2 separate regions of the Homo sapiens genome follow, and region 1 is linked to region 2. Evidence: promoter capture Hi-C in human tissues and cell types (Jung and others, 2019). All regions are on one chromosome and are shown on one strand. The core of a region is centred on a gene start or on the middle of the fragment in contact, and the rest is flanking DNA. Distances in the headings are between cores, read along the strand shown. Region 1 overlaps RSPO4 (R-spondin 4). Region 2 holds the start of ANGPT4 (angiopoietin 4).

Region 1 (4,134 bases), core at 1,537-4,036, 48 kb before region 2:
CTAGAGCCAACATAACCGCCATTACTATGATTACTACTACAACCAACACTGGCATTGTTATTAATGCCAAGGGAATCAGCAGAGTGCAGAAGAAGAGCGCTGATGTTTATTTGTTTGTTTGTTTGCTTGTTTGCTTGTTTTGTTTGAGATAGGGTCTCACTCTGTTGCCCAGCTGGAGTGCAGTGGCATGATCATAGCTCACTGCAGCCTCAAACTCCTAGGCTCAGAGAATCCTCCCGCCTCAGCCTCCCGAGTAACTGGGACCACAGGCATGTACCACAACAGCTGGCTATGCGTTTATGTTTTTGTAAAGACAGGCTCTTGCTATGTTGCCCAGGCTGCCCCTGGGCTCAAGCGGTCTTCCCACCTCAGCCTCCCAAAGCATTGGGAGTATAGGTATGAGCCACCACACCTGGCTGAGCACTGATTTTGGAATAGGACAGGCCTGGGGTCCAATCCTAGCTCTAAACCTTACCCTTTAGTGATCTTAAGCAAACCACCTCAGCTCTCTGTCCTTCGGTTTCTCCAAACGTTAGAAAAAAAAAAAGACAATAGAACATAGAGCCTACCTCATGGGGAGGAATTGTTATGAGGATAAAGTGAATTAGTACAATTTAAAGTGCTCAGTACAGCAGCCAGCACACAGTAGATGCTCAGTACGTGTCAGTATCAGTGTTATTACTGCTCTGATTATTTCCTAACAGCTCCTTGTCACACTCCTGCCTGTGAGCCCTCCCGTTCCTGCACTAGGCTGCTCCTTGGCATTCTCATCTACACTGTGCCTCTCTGCCCACGCATTCCCTCCGGGCTCACATTCATGGTCATTCCAGCTGCTGATGGCCCCTGACTCCGTGTCTCCAGCCTCCCTGAGCAGCTGATCCTCACCTCCACTGCCCTCTGGGTGCCTTCTTTCCACTCCCACTGCCACCATCCCCCACCTAACGCTCCCTCTGGGTTTCCTCTGGGTTTCAATAACCAGCTCCCTGATCCCTGGGTGGCATGCGCGAGATGCAGACATCGCTGTTGACTCTTCTCTCTCCCTCACCCTATATTCAATCCAATCTGTTCATTTATTCACTCTGAAAATATCTACTAGAGCATCTGCTATGGCCAGGCACTTTCCTAGGTGCTGGAGACACATTACAGAACAAAACAGACAAAGCCTCTGCACTCAAGGACATGACATTTCAGTGGAGAGACAGAAGCGACACCTGAGAACAAATGCATAATATTTTGGGTGGTAGGAAGAACTTTGGGGTGAAAATGAAGCAGCACGAAGCTCCCAAACCCACACCATTCAGCTCATCCCTTTCTCCCCACCCATTTGTTTCTGTCCTCTGTGCCGCCCTCTTCCCACCCTCTTGCCACCCCCTGCCTATCGCCAGGGTTCTGGCCACAGCTCCTGCCCGTCTCCCGCCTTGGTTCTCAGTCCCTCCAGCCCAGTCTCCACTCAACAGCAGAGGGAGTATTTCACAATGATAGTCTGCTCAATTTCTTTTCCTCCCAGGACCCTTCAGTGGCTCCCACTGCCCTTGGGCGGAGCCCACCCAGGCCCTGGGCAATCTGTCCCATCTGCCAGCCTTTCCACCCCCATCATTTTTTTCCTCCTCAGTTTGAGCTTATTCTCCGGCTTGCCCAGTTCCAGGCCAAATCATCCTGGGGACTCTGCTGGGGTTATGCCCTCACTTGGAGCACCTCCCGTCCCTCCCTGAGCCTGGCTAGGCTCCCCTTCCCCGCCATCCCACCCCCACTTCAAGACCCAGTCCAGGGGTTTCCTCCCCTACAACCCAACCCATGCTGCTTCTGGGCTCCCACGGTGCCTGCACTTCCCTCATCACGGCGGTGTCCAGATGGTGAATTCCAGGAGGCCTGCAGACCCTGGGCTGTCTTGTCTGCTGCTGCTCCCTCAGCACCCAGAATAGCACCTGGCATACACTGGGTGCTCAGTCTTTACTTGTCAAATGTGTGTATCTAGCAAGGTCTGGGTCCCACTGTGTCTTGAGCTTGCTGTGTCTGCTGTGTGAGCCTCTTGCTGCGTTCCCTTAGCAAACCTCTGCTCTAGGTCTCAGTGTCCAAATCTACAAAATAGGAGTATTCATAGCTACCCATATTCTGTGCCTACTTCTCATGGACTTTTAAAATAATCAAAGTATATATATATATATATGTGTGTGTGTGTGTGTGTGTGTGTGTATGTGTGTATATATGTGTATATATATATGTGTGTGTGTGTGTATATATATGTGTATATATATGTGTGTGTGTGTATATATATGTGTATATATATATGTGTGTGTGTGTGTATATATATATATACATGTATATATGTATTTTTATTACCCCCTATGAAGAACTTTTATGTCCATGGCCTCCTTTTTCTTCCTTCCAAAGTTGATCAAAGACACATGATCAAGTTTAAAACCTGTGTCCTGGTCCTGAGGGCTTCCCAGGCAACCTTCCAGCCTCCTCTCCTGTCCCCGCCTTCCTGAGACTTGACTCCCAACTCAGGCTGCCCCATCTCCCAAACATGGTGGGCCGGGCTCCCAAGGCTTTGCACACCTGCCTGGAATGGGCTTCCTTCTTCTCACCTGACGAGCTCCCCTCTCTCCCTTTAACTCATACATCACCTCCTCCAGGAAGCCTTTCCTTTAAAGCTAGACAGTCGGCCGCTCTGGCTTCAGGCCCATATTAGTCTGTGCATGCATTCGTTTCGCTCTCATTCCAGGCTCTTATAAATAACTCTGCTCCTAGCAGGTGGAAGTGGTGTCTTCAGTCTTCAGAGGACTGAACCCCTCAAACCCTGCCCTTGGATCTGAAGGACCCTCACTGCCGGCTGACCCTGTCTGTCTGTCTGTCTGTCTCTCCTTTCACCCCACAGGGGAGTGTGAACTGGGTCCCTGGGGCGGCTGGAGCCCCTGCACACACAATGGAAAGACCTGCGGCTCGGCTTGGGGCCTGGAGAGCCGGGTACGAGAGGCTGGCCGGGCTGGGCATGAGGAGGCAGCCACCTGCCAGGTGCTTTCTGAGTCAAGGAAATGTCCCATCCAGAGGCCCTGCCCAGGAGGTGAGCCCCAGGACAGGCACACGAGGCTGCGGTGGGAAAGGCCCACAGGGACAGGGCGGACTCAGATCACTGCCCCACAAATAGTATCTATGAGACTGCCTGAAAGGCCACCATTAGCCATACTATCATGTGGAGTACACATCACCTTCCCTGGTGTCCTTTCAAAGGAGGGCCTTCCTTGCTGGGTTCAGTCCCAAATACATTAGGAAAATTGAGCTGGCCAGGAGTTCCCAACCCTCTCAAACTGAACACCCCCCTTTTAATAAGAAGGATTTGGGAATACCCTCTTTATCATTCTTAATGAAGTTCATGGAGAATGTGGCCTACTTGCAAAGGTAATTTTTTTTTATCAGTATAGTGTCCTAACTGTAATATAGAGGAGAAAGAAAAGAAATTTCTTGATGGAAGCGCTTGGCCCAACATACCAACAGACACTTAGGGAAGTACAATCCCAGTGAGGACCGCGGCCGTGGTCAGCGCCCCAAGTACGTGGCCACATCGCCATCAGAGATGCGATTTCCCAACAGTGACCAATGATTAGTAAGGTCCAACCCAATTGATCTCTGATTGACACCACACTCACAGTGCCCTAGAATCTTCAGTGAATGGAAGTGTTCGAAACCAATTGGTATTCATGAGTCAAACAGAATTCAGCTCCCAGCAAGCAGACTTTTCAGCTACGTGAGGGTGGGGCACGATGTGAGAGAACTGGATGGAACAGGGGGACAGCTCGTCTTTGCGGGGGACTGTCCCACGCTGGATCCCGATTGCCGTCCACTGAATGCCACAGGAACCCCCTTCACTGTGCCATTCAAGACCACTACACGTATTTCCAAAATGTTTCTGGGGGCTATGAAGGACCACTGATTTACATAGAAGAGAGGCCACAGGGTGTGCTTGGTAAGATGTGAACGGTGAGTAGTATTGGCAGTGTTGACTGGGCACTGTGCCGAATTCTCTATAATCGTTAACTCATGTAATCTTCGCAGTGATGCTATGCGGTAGGTGTTATTAGCACTATCCCCATTTTACAGATGAGGGGACTGAGGCCCAGAAAGGTTGAGTCACTC
Region 2 (4,383 bases), core at 771-3,270:
GGATGGTAAGGTCAGGAGCAGAGTGAGGGATGAGGGAAGCCTCATGTTTCCCAGGCAGGGCCTGCTACCTAATTTGTGGAACTCAATGAAGAATGCAAGTGCTGAGTACTTTGTTCCAAATGTATTAAGAATTTCAAGACAGTGCTGGCAGAGTGTAAACCAAGCATGGGGCCCATCTAAGCTTGGGGCCTGGTGTAACTGCCTCGTTGGGATTATCAAGCAGCTCAGTCAAGACAATCATAATGACGACCACCATTCACACTGCCCTTCTCTGCACCCAGAGCTGTGATAAGCTATCAGTCCACATTACTCTCACATGGTCAGGGTGCTATGACCCCATTTACAGCTGAGGCAACTGGGGCCAAGCGGGGCACGCAGAGCTCAGAGCATGTGGGAAGGCTCAGGGGAGGCTGGAGGCTGATAACCAGCTGCTTTTCCTTTGCCTGCAAAAGCCCCACACCTGGTATAATGTTCTCAGTCCCCAGATGAGACCACAGTTCACAGCTGCCCAGAAGCAGCCTGCCCCAATTCAAAACTCTATCGGGATTTGAGAGAACAAAAAGGAAAATACTAAACAGCCAGACTGGCCCCTACTCTGAGGAAACAAGCAGGGAGAGAGGAAAAGCCCAAACAGCTGGCAGAACATAAAGGCAGCCCATGCAGGAAAGGCCCCACCAACTCCTGGGCACCTTCTGCCTGGAGACCATGTCCCCCAGGGACAAATCCCTGCCCTAGAGGAGTTTATGCTCCAGTGGGTCGTGGGAGGGGAGGTGCAATGACAACTATAACATTGACAACGGAAAATATTTATTTAGTGCTCGCTCTGTGCCAACCTTGCTCTAACTCACCTAATTTTCATGCCATGTGAAGTAGGTGGTATTATTTTCCTCATTCAGGAGGAAATGAAGGCACAGAGAGGTTAAGTGACTTACTCAAAGTCATACAGCTGGTAGATGGTAGAGCCAGGATTTGAACCCAGAAGCTGAAAACTTCTCCATCCCCATGCTGAGGACTCACACGCATTCCTCCTGCAAGAGATAAGGTTTACCCAGTTTACAGATCAGGGTGTGGAGGCCCAGAGAGGCACAGCTGCCCACCCTAGGTCTCGTGGCCAGCTGTCGGGGAGCGAGATCTAGGGTTAGCCTCCTGGCACTCCAACCTCCTCTCCCCACTGCCTCCTCTCCACATCCCCACTCCAGCAGCCCCAGGACAATCTGCCCCAGGACATGACAACTTCTCATTACTGTTACAAGCAACCAAGCCAGGGCCATCCTGGGGCATACCACTTTCCCCTGGCCCTGAGGGAGAAGAGAGGACAGGAAGCAACTCCCAGCTGGGTTGCTCACTTGCCCCACCTTGGAAGGATTTTCTGTGTCTCCAGAGGCAAAGTGGATTCGCTGGGCCCTCCCCAGCCTCACCCCTCTGCCTCCTCCCCTCCCTCTGCTCTCTCCGGGGGTCACTTGTACTCCAAGCGCTAACATGGAACCAGAGGGAGGAAGGTGCAGCGGGGAGAGAAGGGGATGGCAGCGGGACTGAAACTTGAGATCTTAGACTTGGGGGGCAGGGGATGGGGGTGGAGGGAAAGAGGGAGACCAAGACAGAGACAGGAAGGGAGAGTTAAGTTGCATTTGGTTTTCCAAAGCGGGCAGCATTGGAGCTTGGCGTTTGTGTGTACATGAATGTGTGTGCGTGTCAGCGTGCGTGTGAGTGTGTGCTCGTGAGTGTGTGCATGAGTGTGTGCGCGTGTCTGTGTGCTGTTTTCTTCCCTCCCCTCCAGCAGGGAAGCCAGGCCTCACTGGATAATCAGAGGGCTCAGAGGTGAGGCAGACAGAGCAAGGTTGGTGCACGCTTAGGGTAAGGGCGACGTGCCACCAAGACTGAGGAAGGAGGAAGGGAAGGAGTGAAGAATAGAGGTGAGAGGGTGTCGGGTGGGGCCGGAGGGAGGCGGTGAGAGGAAGCAAGCAGAGCAGCCGTGGTATTCAGAGCAAGTATAAATAGCTGCCTGGACAGAGCTCGGCCAGACAGAGGTTTGTAGCTGCAGCTGCAGGCAAGCCTGGCCACTGTTGGCTGCAGCAGGACATCCCAGGCACAGCCCCTAGGGCTCTGAGCAGACATCCCTCGCCATTGACACATCTTCAGATGCTCTCCCAGCTAGCCATGCTGCAGGGCAGCCTCCTCCTTGTGGTTGCCACCATGTCTGTGGCTCAACAGACAAGGCAGGAGGCGGATAGGGGCTGCGAGACACTTGTAGTCCAGCACGGCCACTGTAGCTACACCTTCTTGCTGCCCAAGTCTGAGCCCTGCCCTCCGGGGCCTGAGGTCTCCAGGGACTCCAACACCCTCCAGAGAGAATCACTGGCCAACCCACTGCACCTGGGGAAGTTGCCCACCCAGCAGGTGAAACAGCTGGAGCAGGCACTGCAGAACAACACGCAGTGGCTGAAGAAGGTACGGGGCATGGGAGGTTTGCAGGGGGCAGAGGGCGGCTTTGGGGTCTGTCACAATCAGCAGGTGGAGTGTCCATCCAAGAGGCCTTCCCTGAGCACAGAGGGCTGTCTCTGAGCTGCACAAAGAGGGGCAGGGGTGGGTCTGAGGCCACACAGCAAGATTGGGCAATGTCAGCTGGCAACCTGGCTCTTTAACTGCCGTCCCTTCATTCATCCAACAGAAATCCATTCAGCCCTGACCAAGGGCTGAACGGACCAAGCCTTCCTGGGTGCTGGGGATACGACAGTATAGTATGTCTCCCTCTGGACTAGTAGGGGAAAGAGGCAGTAAGAGATAATCTACTATGTCAGATGGTGAAGCAAAATGAAGAAGAAAGAGGGCAAGTGGCGGCCCTGGGTGGCTGCTTGAGGTCAGATCATTAGAGAGTACTTCTCAGAGGAGGTGACATTTGAACCCAGAGAACAAGGGAAATGATAGAGTGGGCCAGGCAGGTATTTGAGGGAACGTTCTGCAAAGGGAGCTGCATGTATTTTGACCGTGAGGAGGGAATGCATCCGCAGCGGTGTGTGCCTGGAGAACCATGGGGCGAAGGCCTGTGTAGCTGGAGCAGAGGAGAGGGAGCAAGGGTGCGGGGAGGTCTGAGAGGTGACAGCAGGGCAGGCCATGCAGCTGGGGGGGGGGCCACTGGAAGGACTTCAGCTTTTGTTCTGAGTGTCATGGGAGCCACTGCAAGGTTGTGAGCAGAGACAGACACCCGTGATTCGATTTCAACAGCATAGACTGTAGGAGGCAGGGTGGAAGGAAGAAGCCCAAAGAGGTGGCCGCTGCAGCCATCAGGTGCAAGGTACCGGAGGCCTGGAGCAGAACGGGGCTAGGAGGGGGTGTGGCCAGTAAGATTCTGGTGGGTTCTGGAGGTAGAGCCCATCAGCTCTGCTGGTGAATTGGATGCGGAGTGGGAGGAAGCAAGGAGCTGAGGATGCCACTGTGGTTTTGGCCCAAGACCAGGGCTGCTGTAGAATGCCCTGTCATGCTTTCGTCTTTCAGCAGTGTGAGCACCTATTGTGTACCCTCGGAGAAGCACTGACTACAGAGGTGTGCAAAGCAGGCTTGGCCCTGGCGGGGCATGAGGGTACAGGAGACATCCTGGGGGGTCTGAGATGGGACTCTTCAGAGTCCCTAAGTGAGAGCTACCAAGGAAAGGGAGAGGGACCCAGGAGACAGTCTGGGCGATGACTGAGGAATGAAGGATGCGAACTAATTCCTGGAGTTTTAGAAGGTATTAAACAGCAGACAAGCTTGACAACCACCTCTGGCTCCAGGCAGGATAGCTGTCCTGGCTGCCCCCCTGGCTCCCTGCTAACACTCGGCCCCCACCTCCTGTTCTCCATGCAGCAGACCAAAGAATCCCCATCAAAACCTAAGTTACATCCTCTCCCTCCTCCCAGGGCTAACCATGCATCCGAATAAAAGCAAGAACCCTTACTCCCTGGAGTTCCCTCTCCCAGACTCCCACTTTGCTTACCCCAGCCTCCTATCCTCTCCAGCGCCATCTCCCCAGAGGCCCTCCTTGTCCTCCCCGTACGAAATAACCACCTTCCTCTTCCACCCTTTGTCCCTCTGCTGGCTTTGTTGTGTTTTTTTTTCTTAGAACTTATCCCTACCTAATGTTCTTAAAAACATTTCTTTTGGTGTGTGAGCTCCCAGAGGGCAGGCGCCATGTCTCTTTTGCTCACTTCTGGGTTCCCAGGGCCTAGAATAGTGCCGAACACACAGTAGGTACTCAATAAATGTCTGTAGCATGAGTGAATGCATGAATGCATAAATGTCCTTCCAATCTCTCAGGTCCCAGGTCTCCATCCTGCTCCGTGATGACACAAAATTGGCATTGATGGGATCCTGAGCCCAAAACCCATGACCTGGATCTCCCCCAACACC

The links. Contacts are between HindIII fragments. The study calls those that stand out against the background at their distance.
Region 1: a contact is called between a fragment that was not itself captured here and the fragment with the promoter of ANGPT4 in region 2, in 1 of the 25 tissues and cell types used here (lymphoblastoid cells).

Annotation. Positions count from the first base shown.
Region 1 is chr20:962,865-966,998 of GRCh38, reverse strand. RSPO4 (R-spondin 4) reads left to right here. Exons shown (of 5, transcript NM_001029871.4): 4 at 2,879-3,064. Among named protein-coding and RNA genes, the nearest start is that of RSPO4, 37 kb to the left of the region's middle. The HindIII fragment of the contact is 9,060 bases long and covers 1-4,134 here.
Region 2 is chr20:913,971-918,353 of GRCh38, reverse strand. It overlaps ANGPT4 (angiopoietin 4), which reads left to right and starts at 2,020. Exons shown (of 9, transcript NM_015985.4): 1 at 2,020-2,448. The coding sequence starts at 2,140. LOC105372492 (a long non-coding RNA gene) reads right to left here. Exons shown (of 3, transcript XR_937185.3): 2 at 933-1,028. The HindIII fragment of the contact is 12,950 bases long and covers 1-4,383 here.